Linked DNA regions of Homo sapiens: region 2 is linked to region 1. The links are contacts of gene promoters, found by promoter capture Hi-C in human tissues and cell types (Jung and others, 2019). All regions are on one chromosome and are shown on one strand. Each heading gives the region's core, a stretch centred on a gene start or on the middle of the fragment in contact. The rest is flanking DNA. Distances are from core to core; before and after follow the strand shown. Region 1 holds the start of GGCX (gamma-glutamyl carboxylase). Region 2 overlaps KCMF1 (potassium channel modulatory factor 1).

What was found. Contacts are between HindIII fragments. The study calls those that stand out against the background at their distance.
Region 2: a fragment that was not itself captured here is called in contact with the fragment with the promoter of GGCX in region 1 in 1 of the 25 tissues and cell types used here (IMR-90 fibroblasts).

The regions. Positions count from the first base shown.
Region 1 is chr2:85,558,663-85,563,692 of GRCh38, reverse strand. GGCX (gamma-glutamyl carboxylase) reads left to right here and starts at 2,200. Exons shown (of 15, transcript NM_000821.7): 1 at 2,200-2,307; 2 at 2,708-2,878; 3 at 4,618-4,776. The coding sequence starts at 2,265. RefSeq lists an enhancer at 1,997-2,226. The HindIII fragment of the contact is 7,250 bases long and covers 366-5,030 here.
Region 2 is chr2:85,055,432-85,060,461 of GRCh38, reverse strand. KCMF1 (potassium channel modulatory factor 1) reads right to left here. Exons shown (of 7, transcript NM_020122.5): 7 at 990-5,030. Among named protein-coding and RNA genes, the nearest start is that of LINC01964, 9.4 kb to the left of the region's middle. The HindIII fragment of the contact is 4,482 bases long and covers 1-4,207 here.

The DNA of each region.
Region 1 (5,030 bases), core at 951-3,450:
GCCTCCCCAGTAGGTGGGATTACAGGCACGTGCCACCACACCCGGCTAATTTTTGTATTTTTAGTAAAGACGGGGTTTCACCGTATTGGTCAAGCTGGTCTCGAACTCCTGACTTTGTGATCCACCTGCCTCAGCCTCCCAAAGTGCTGGGATTACAGGTGTGAGCCACCGTGCCCGGCCTTTTTTTTTTTTTTTTTTTTTTGAGACAGAGTCTTACTCTGTCACCCAGGCTGGAGTGCAGTGGTTCGATCTTGGATCACTGCAACCTCCACCTCCCGGGTACAAGTGATTCTCCTGTCTCAGCCTTCTGAGTAGCTGGGATTATAGACGCCTGCCACCACACCCGGCTCATTTTTTTTGTATTTTTAGTAGAGACGGGGTTTTACCATGTTGGCGAGGCTGATTTCAAATTGCTGACCTTAAGTGATCCAACCGCCTCGGCCTCCCAAAGTGCTGGAATTACAGGCGTGAGCCACCGCGCCTGGCCTCAAAAAAAAAAATTTTTTTTTTCAGGACGGCGTCTTGCTCTGTCGCCCAGGCTGGAGGGCAGTGGTGCGATCTCGGCTCACTGCAAGCTCTACCTCCTGGGTTCACGCCATTCTCCTGCCTCAGCCTCTCGAGTAGCTGGGACTGCAGGCGCCTGCCACCACGCCCGGATAATTTTTTGTATTTTTAGTAGAGACGGGGTTTCACCGTGTTAGCCAGGATGGTCTCGATCTCCTGACCTCGTGATCCACTCGCCTCGTCCTCCCAAAGTGCTGGGATTACAGGCGTGAGCCACCGCGCCCGGCCAAAAAAATTTCTAATACGGCAAATATTGAAAGATATAATCCACATAAACAAAGCTTTTAGGGTCTTCTATAATTTCTAACACTGTAAATGGTTCCCAAGACCCAACTGTTTGAGAACCGCTTCTCTGGGATGCCTTCTTCTTTTCCTGCTGGCTAATCCCAGTGGAGAGATTTAGGTATTTAATTCTGCTCCAGACTCACCTCTGAGAACCTTCCCTGATGGGCCACACTCTACTCACTGCCCTTGCTCTGTATCCCCTCTTCAGTTATGTTGTTCCTGTTTCCCTGGCTGCTTTTAATTTTCTTTCTTTCTTTTCTTCCCGCCTTTTCTTTTCTTTCTCTTTCTTTTTCGTTTTTTGTTTTTTGAGACGGAGTCTCACTCTGTCGCCCAGGCTGGAGTGCAGTAGCGCGATCTTGGCTCACTGCAACCTCCGCCTCCTAGGTTCAAGCGATTCTCCTGCCTCAGCCTCCCGAGTAGCTGGGATTACAGGCGCACGCCACCATGCCCGGATTATTTTTGTATTTTTAGTACAGACGGGGTTTCACCATGTTGGCCAGGCTGGTCTTTAACTCCTGACTTCAAGTGATCCGCCCGCCTTGGCCTCTCAAAGTGCTGGGATTACAGGCTTGCTGCCGCACCCGGCTTGTTTTTTTTTTTTTTTTTTTTTGAGACGGGGTCTCACTGTGTCCCCCAGGCTGGAGTGCAGTGGTGCGATCACAGCTCCCTGCAGCCTCGAACTACTGGGCTCAAGCGAACCTCCCACCTCAGCCTCCCGAGTAGCTGAAACCACAGGAGCGCGCCACGACACACAGCTAACTTTTTTTTTAGTGTTTTTTCTTTTTTTGTTGTTGCCTTTTTTTTTTTTCTTTATCGATCCTCCCGCATTGGCCTTCCAAACTGTTGGGATTACAAGCGAGAGCAGTGCCCGGCCCCTACTGCTTTGAAACCTCGGTTCTTTGCAGGTCCTGGAAAAGAAAGTGAAGGGGTCGTGCAATGGCTCAAAACCCAGGCAACATTTCCAGGCGCGTCCTCAACTCGGCGTCACTCTGACAAAAAGTTTGCCCTTTGCGCCCGATCCCTCACACCAGAGAGCACCGCAGGGACGCAGGGACGGAGAGGACTAATGGGGTCGGGGAGGACCCAAGGAAGTTGGGGAACTCAGACTCTTTTCAGTGTTTAAAAAGCAGAGGCCCCCTCGGAAGGCATAACAGGCGAGTCTAACAATGCCCCTGGAGATCAACGGCACTAAGGGGTACCTTTGCCCCGCTCCAAGGCTCCTTGTTCCGCCCCCTGCCGCCAAGCAAGGAATCCGGCGCCGCCGGTCGTGGGTAGTATTTACGACAGTGCTGGCGCTTTGCGGCCGGCCGCACAGCCGCTGACGCGTCGGGAGGCGGAGCCTAGGGAAGCAAATTCTCCTGGCGGCCTCCGTTCAGACGCGGCAGCTGTGACCCACCTGCCTCCTCCGCAGAGCAATGGCGGTGTCTGCCGGGTCCGCGCGGACCTCGCCCAGCTCAGGTAGGCTTAGGACCCCGCCCTCCGGCGGAGAGTTCCTAGGAGCGCTGGTCTCAGAGGGGCGGGGGCGGGAGGACGCCCAGTGTCTCCCGGTGAGGCGGGGGGGGGGTCCTCTGTGGGGAAGGGGGCGTGCTGTGAGACATTTGCAGCCTGCGGCTTCTGAATGATGATGACATTCGGGAACACTGCGGTTAGGGGACTGTAGTCTGAGGGGTTCTGGGACATTAGGGGATCGTGGAGAGGGGGCTGCACTGCAGGGATGTTTCCTATAGTCAGATCATTGAGGCAACCTCATTGAGCCGACCCGGGTGGGCGGAAGCTCTGAGCTGTTGGTGCAGTGATTTCTTTGATTTGAGGTGGAGCCCACCCCCGCACACATATTTTCTCCATTTATTGATTGCAGATAAAGTACAGAAAGACAAGGCTGAACTGATCTCAGGGCCCAGGCAGGACAGCCGAATAGGGAAACTCTTGGGTTTTGAGTGGACAGATTTGTCCAGTTGGCGGAGGCTGGTGACCCTGCTGAATCGACCAACGGACCCTGCAAGCTTAGCTGTCTTTCGTTTTCTTTTTGGTGAGTCCAGTTTATGGGTGGGAGCAATTTGGTTGAGAGTGGAGAATGACAATCTCTATTTTTTGGTTGCAAGTAGACTTAGCTCCCTTTTCCTCAGAGCTGAAGACATTGGTATAAAAGAAGAGGTCTTTGCGAAGTTTAGGATTAAACCTGCTTTGTCTCCTACAGTTAGGATTTACTTGGTGGCCAGAAATGCTTTTTTTTTTTTCCTTAGACGGACTTTCGCTCTTGTTGCCCAAGCTGGAGTGCAATGGCGCTATCTCGGCTCACTGTAACCTCCGCCACCCGGGTTAAAGCGATTCTCCTCCCTCAGTCTCCCGAGTAGCTGGGATTACAGGCGCCCACCACCACACCCGGCTAATTTTTTATTTTTTTTGTATGTGTGTTTTTAGTAGAGACGGGGTTTCACCATGTTGGCCAGGCTGGTCTCAAACTCCTGACCTCAGGTGATCCGCCTGCCTCGGCCTCCCAAAGTGCTGGGATTACAGGTGTGAGCCACCGTACCCAGCTAGAAATGCTATATGATATGTAGAGGCGAGGCAGCAGTGACCCATTTTGCTTGTGGCATGAAGTTGCCCAGAAGACTCAGAGAAACAGAGCAGGGGGCCACAGGGACCATACCTTTTGGCTGTGACTCCCTAATCAAGAGCTTCTTAACTGAGGCCGCAGCATGGTGTGCTTGGAATGGTTTACAGATGTGCAGAGATATTAGTCCCCTTAGCCCAGTAGTTCTCAACTGGAGGGAGTTTTGCTCCCTGGGAGACATTTGGCAATGTTTAGAGACATTTTTAGTTGTCACAACTTGGGGGAGGAAGAATAGGTGGCTGCTGGCATCTCTATAGAGGTCAGGGAGTGCTCCTAAATGTCCTGTAGTGCATTGGATAATCCCCTCAATAAATAATTAACCAGCCCAAAATGTGACTAGTCCTGAAGTTGAGAAACCCTGCTTTATCTCAAGCTGGCTTCCTGATCTGAGTAGCCTCTTCTGTTTATTCCCAGGGTGTTGACGAAATGCAACTGTTTTTGGAGTGTGCCAGGAAGCAGAAAAGGTTGAGAAGCACTCCCAGAGCACTTTCTTTCTTTCTTTCTTTCTTTTTTTGAGACGGAGTTTCGATCTTGTTGCCCAGGCTGGAGTGCAATGGTGTGATCTCGGCTCACTGCAACCTCCGCCTCCCAGGTTCAAGTGATTCTCCTGCTTCAGCTTCCCGAGTAGCTGGGATTACAGGCATGCGCCACCACACCTGGCTAATTTTTTTGTATTTTAAGTAGAGACGGGGTTTTTCCATGTTGGTCAGGCTGGTTTCGAACTCCCAACCTCAGGTGATCTGCCCACCTCAGCCTCCTAAAGTGCTGGGATTACAGGCGTGAGCCACCGTGCCTGGCCTCCCAGAGCACTTTCTGAAGCTCAATAGGATGGATCTTTATAGCTGTCAAGACCCTAACAGTTTTTATAGCATTTTGTGCATTTCTGTAATTTAATCCTCTCTGTAGTCCTGTGATGTATTCCCCTTCTCACAAATGGGGAATTGGTTAACCGAGCTGCAGGGGCTGTTCTAGATGGCACAACAGATGTAGTACTGTGCAGAGTAGGCACTCAATAATTAATACTGAATAAATGGCAGAGCCAAGATTAGAAAAGAAGTCTGACCCTGGAGCTGCACACTGTCAACTGTGTTCCACTGTATTCTACTGCTTCCTTAGCTGAGGCCCAATGACCAACTCCCCTATTGCCTTCTTAGGGTTCTTGATGGTGCTAGACATTCCCCAGGAGCGGGGGCTCAGCTCTCTGGACCGGAAATACCTTGATGGGCTGGATGTGTGCCGCTTCCCCTTGCTGGATGCCCTACGCCCACTGCCACTTGACTGGATGTATCTTGTCTACACCATCATGTTTCTGGGTGAGGGGAACTGTGGGAAATATTGACTGGCCTGCCAGAAACACAGAAATAGAAGCATGCTGGTGAATGGTCAAAGTCTTTGGCACCTTATTTCACTTCTGCTGTGATCAATTTCATGCTGTTGACCTGTGTGTCACTTAAGCTGTGATCCCATAATTCTTTTTAAAATATTAAAATAACATTTAATTTTCATTTAGTTTTATGTGATTATACAATGCTTGATTTTTCTTAATTCCAACCATATCCTGGTCCAG
Region 2 (5,030 bases), core at 717-3,216, 500 kb after region 1:
AACAAACAAACACCAAACAAACACACAAAACAAAAAAAACCCTGCCATTGGCTAGAGGCAGTTGAGTGTTCAAAATGGGGAAAAACAACCACCAAAAGCCAACAGGAACTCTGAAGAGGGAAAAAAAAAATGGATAAGGAACAAGTCTTGTCCCTTCCGGTCCTGAGTGGGTGGGGCTTATGTTCATGCTGAAGTTCAGGGGGCTCCTTCTCAAGTCCTTCTTTCTAGTCTTGCCCTGTGAAGCTGTAAGTAGAATCAGTATTCCAAAGTCCTTTTCTGGACTGAGGAGAGAGGCCACATGTTCACCCCTCAGGCTCAGACACCAGCAACAGTGGTAACCAGGGTGGTCCTGAAAATTCCGTAGGCAAATGGAACTGAAACTGCAGATGTCACTGGAAGCATTAATAAAACACACACACACACACACACACACACACACACACACACACACACAGAAACAGGAGAGGACGCAGACAGGGACAATAGGAGTAATGGTATTTCACAGGGGATTTAAAACTATAGAAATGAGGCCAGGTGTGGTGGCTCACGCTTGTAATCCCAGCATTTTGGGAGGCCGAGGCAGGTGGATCACCTGAGGTTAGGAGTTTGAGACCAGCCTGACCAACATGGTGAAACCCCGTCTCTACTAAAAATACAAATACAAAATACAAAATACTAAAAATACAAAAAAGTAGCTGGGCGTGGTGGCACACATCTGTAATCCCAGCTACTTGGGAGGCTGAGGCAGGAGAATCATTTGAACCCAGAAGGCGGAGATTGCAGTGAGCCGAGATAGTGCCACTGCACTCCAGCCTGGGCAACAAGAGCAAAACTCCATCTCAAAAAACAAAACAAAACAAAAACTATAGAAATGCCGAAACACCAGTGCCACAGATGACCAAGTCTGTGTTGAACATTACTGACATCTTAAGATGACACAACACTGAAGTCACACTCAGCTATCTCAGTGAATGCAATGGAAACTGAGGTGCACAACACAAAGTTTATTCAAATCAGAAAACAGATAAGCTTCATGACAGGTGGTGATGTTATAAAAGGTAATCTATATCAAGGGTTCAGTACAAATTAGTCTCGGAGCCTGATACAATATGCAATTTATTCTAAAGTACTGTATCGTCAGTGTGATATTTTCCAAGGTAAGTCTGAATCGTGAGTGGTCAGCACACATGGTGGCTGCTATCCGATAGGGCAATTCAACAGACACTGCTAATTAGCATACTATATATTTAAAAATGGACTTTTATGGGGAAACTAGTGTCTTGTTAATTGTCATGAAAGGTTCTCGTGGGCAAAATTAAATGGATTCAAGGCTGGCCAGAATAGCTTTCATGACTAGGGGGTAAGAATCCATGAACTCTCCTTCAGTCCCTAGCGACAGTGGCTGAGGCCTGTGTCTGTTGGTCCAGTCCACTTGCCAATACAGGAGTATTATAGAATCTTACCCCAGGAATATTGCTGCATCTACCTCAAGAAAACCTTATATACAGGGTGTGGTCTCCTTATATACAAGGAGAGAGAGCTGGGACTCCATCCAGCTTACAGAAGAGGATGCTTCTGGGCTGGCTTCACTATTAAATGAATATGGATCTCTTATGTGTGAGGCAGATTCCAAATGCTGTCAGTCTAATTTGGTAGATTTAAGGGAGCAGCTCACTCACCAGCTCTGATTGGTCACGTGACTGACCAAACGCAACCGGCTTGATGACCTTTGAAAACGTTTCAATTGTGTAAGGGAGAAAGGCTCTTTTAGAAAATTCTTACAGGGGAAGTCTGTAAAAATCGCAGTTGGTAAATAATGTTTAGACAAAGCTTCGTACCTACTGGGAACTCAAAAAGTATGTATGAATGAGAGAGCAGCGAACTGATGGTTTCTATAGACAGAGGAGCCAACATTCTACAGGCTACATGCACTGTCTGCCAAGGACACAGTCAGATGCTAGGTTCCCTGTGGTTAGTAAAGGCCTCCTTGAAGAGAAACATCATTATCCAGGCCTGTGGAAAGCAGCCCCAGGCTGTGCACATGCGGCCCACATGGGTTTTCTTTCTTTTTTTTTTGTTTTGAGGAGAGTCTCACTGTGTCGCCCAGGCTGGAGTGCAGTGGCGCAATCTCGGCTCACTGCAACCTCCGCCTCCCGGGTTCAAGCAATTCTCTGCCTCAGCCTCCCGAGTAGCAGGAATTACAGGCATCTGCCACCAAGCCCAGCTAATTTTCGTATTTTTAGTAGAGATGGGGTTTCACCATCTTGGCCAGGCTGGTCCTGAACTAACCTCGTGATCCACCCGCCTTGGCCTCCCAAAGTGCTGGGATTACAGGCGTGAGCCACCACACCCGGCCCCACATGGGTTTTCAAATCAGCCATGTGCAGCCCTCATCCATATCTGTGCACTATCTGTACAGCAAGTAAAGTTACCTGGGACAGTCAGACTTAAGGGTTCTTTTTAATTGATCTCTTTAGTTGCTGTAAAGTTAACTGACTTACTAAAGTTAACATGAGGACTTGAGAGCATTCTCCTTTGTGATTTGAGGAACCCATGTTATTAGGCATTACCCACCTAATAGCAACCGACTAAAATGTGACGTGGAGGTTCAGGATCAACTTCTCTGAGACGAATCGTCTTTCAAAACTTGAATTTGCTAACCAAGTTGAGGAAGTGGCAACAAACATCAAGTCACATTTTATTCGAGGTCTGCTGCAGGGTTCCTTAAATAACGAATGTATGCATTTATAGAACACTGACAGAAATGGGTTGAAAAACTACAGAAACCAAGAGGCAAGAGTACGAATTAGAAACAAACGTTGTGTAAGCACAGTTGAAGCCGATAAGCACAGGGAATTAGATTTTTATACTATTCAGAAAAACAGTCACTTGAATTTGGCTTTGGAATACCGTAATGACTGACTCAGACATAGCCATGTTTAATAGCACAGAATTTCATGACATCGTCACAACCTGAAAGTCTGCAGACTGCTGCTCCATCCTGCACTCTAACCCTAACCTCTACCCACTCCAGGCCAGGCATAGGGTTTCAATTACTGTTGAGGCTGAAATGAGATGAGATGAGAGGCTCCTCCCCAGCCTCTTCCCTTCCACCTGCCCACCCCCATCCCACTTCCGGTCTCAAGGAGAGAACTGTTTTAGTGTCTAGTTGAGCTTTAGAAAGAGCACAGATAACCGTAACTGTTTTCCAGCATGAACACCAACTTTCGCGTATAATTCTGGGATAATTTCGTACCTAGTGTTTTAATTTTTTTTTTTTTTGAGACAGAGTCTTGCACCGTCGCCCGGGCTGGAGTGCAATGGCGGCGTGATCTCAGCTCACTGCAACCTCTGCCTCCCAGGTTCAAGCGATTCTCCTGCCTCAGCCTCCCGAGTAGCTGGGATTACAGGTGCCTGCCACCATGCCCAGCTAACTTTTTGTATTTTTTAGTAGAGATGGGGTTTCACTATGCTGGCCAAAATGGTCTCAAACTCGACCTCGTGATCCACCCGCCTCGGCCTCGCAAAGTGCTGGGATTACAGGCGTGAGCCACCACGCTCAGCCGTGTTTTAATTTTTACTGCACATGAAACCAATATTGCATGTGCCCCTTAAACTGTGCATGCAAACTAAGAAACAGGCATGTCATATATAGTAAACACGGCTGCAGGGCTTCTCTACAAAACTGTTAAGAGCTTTTAGCACCCATTCCTCCATCACACTTAGTTTTTTACACATGCCTGTATCAGTAAGCCATATCAGACCCCACTTACAGTAGACTTAATATTGGTACTGAACACTGTTACAGGAATCCCATTCAAAAGATTCTTTTCTGCAGCCACCTGCTACCGTAACCTCTCTAGTATTCTCCTTCTACCCCCCAACCCACTTTGTCCTTAACTAGAGCTATGAACTATTGATATATGTGCTTACCCCAACATCCATGGAGTAAATATATAAAGCGTTAATATTTGCAGTGAGGAGCCTAGCTTTTTTCCTGGAAACTAAGGCTTGGACGTATCAAGAGAACTCTGAACCTGTTACCCGTTCTTTTAACTGTGGCCCACAGACCGGAAAAAAACACAAAAGCCTTGGTGACCTTTGAAAATCTGTCAGCATATTATTGAAATTTCTAATATTGAGAGGGAAAATGGGGGGTGGGGATAATGGGCTGGATTTTTTTTGTTACGTCTATTATTTCTAATAGTGTAATCTGCTATCCTACTTCATTTCTCTGGGGGCCACAGGGAGAGAAGTTTTCTCTTACTTTACCTGAGCCTAATTATAAGAATCCACTACTTTGTTAGTAGCAAACCTAGGTTCTACTTCTGTGGATTTTTTTTTTTTTAACAAAACAATGCAATATAAATACAAAGATTTCACGGTAGCCAACCACAGAAATTCTGTCTTATGATTGCAGCCATACAAGGAAGCACAGTTATTTCTACTTGTTCAGAGCTGAAATTAAACTTCTTCCAGAGCACCTCGAGGGGAAAGATTTAAATGATTTCTAAACAGGAAGTAAAGACAAGCACTGTAGAACATTTATAAACTTATATCCTAGACACTCAAAACTCAACGAAACAAAAAATTCTCAAAATTCAGGATCTGGTCCTTAGAAATTTGAAGGTGCTGCCAAAATAAACAGTGGTATATTTTGATTTTGTCTCCATCAAAGTCTTTGCAATTAATTTTTATTCAATAGTACATCCAGTAATAAGATTTTCATTCAGAAACTAAAGAAAAAGGACACAAGAATTTCAAGGGCTTGAATATATTTTTATATTGATATTCTGTGTCGTTCTACCCTAAAATAATACATTATTGATTACATACAGGATGAGGTGAGGTATTTGTAAAATATCTGGTAAAAAATAATTAATATACAGTATTCTACATGAGATGGAATCTTATGACTCCTTAGGTCTTCTGCAGTGTTAAAAGTGATCATCTAAATTAAACTGCTCTGAATGGACTTACAGTTGTTCCCTAAAACCATGTTAAAAAATGAAGGCTTTTACATTTTCCCA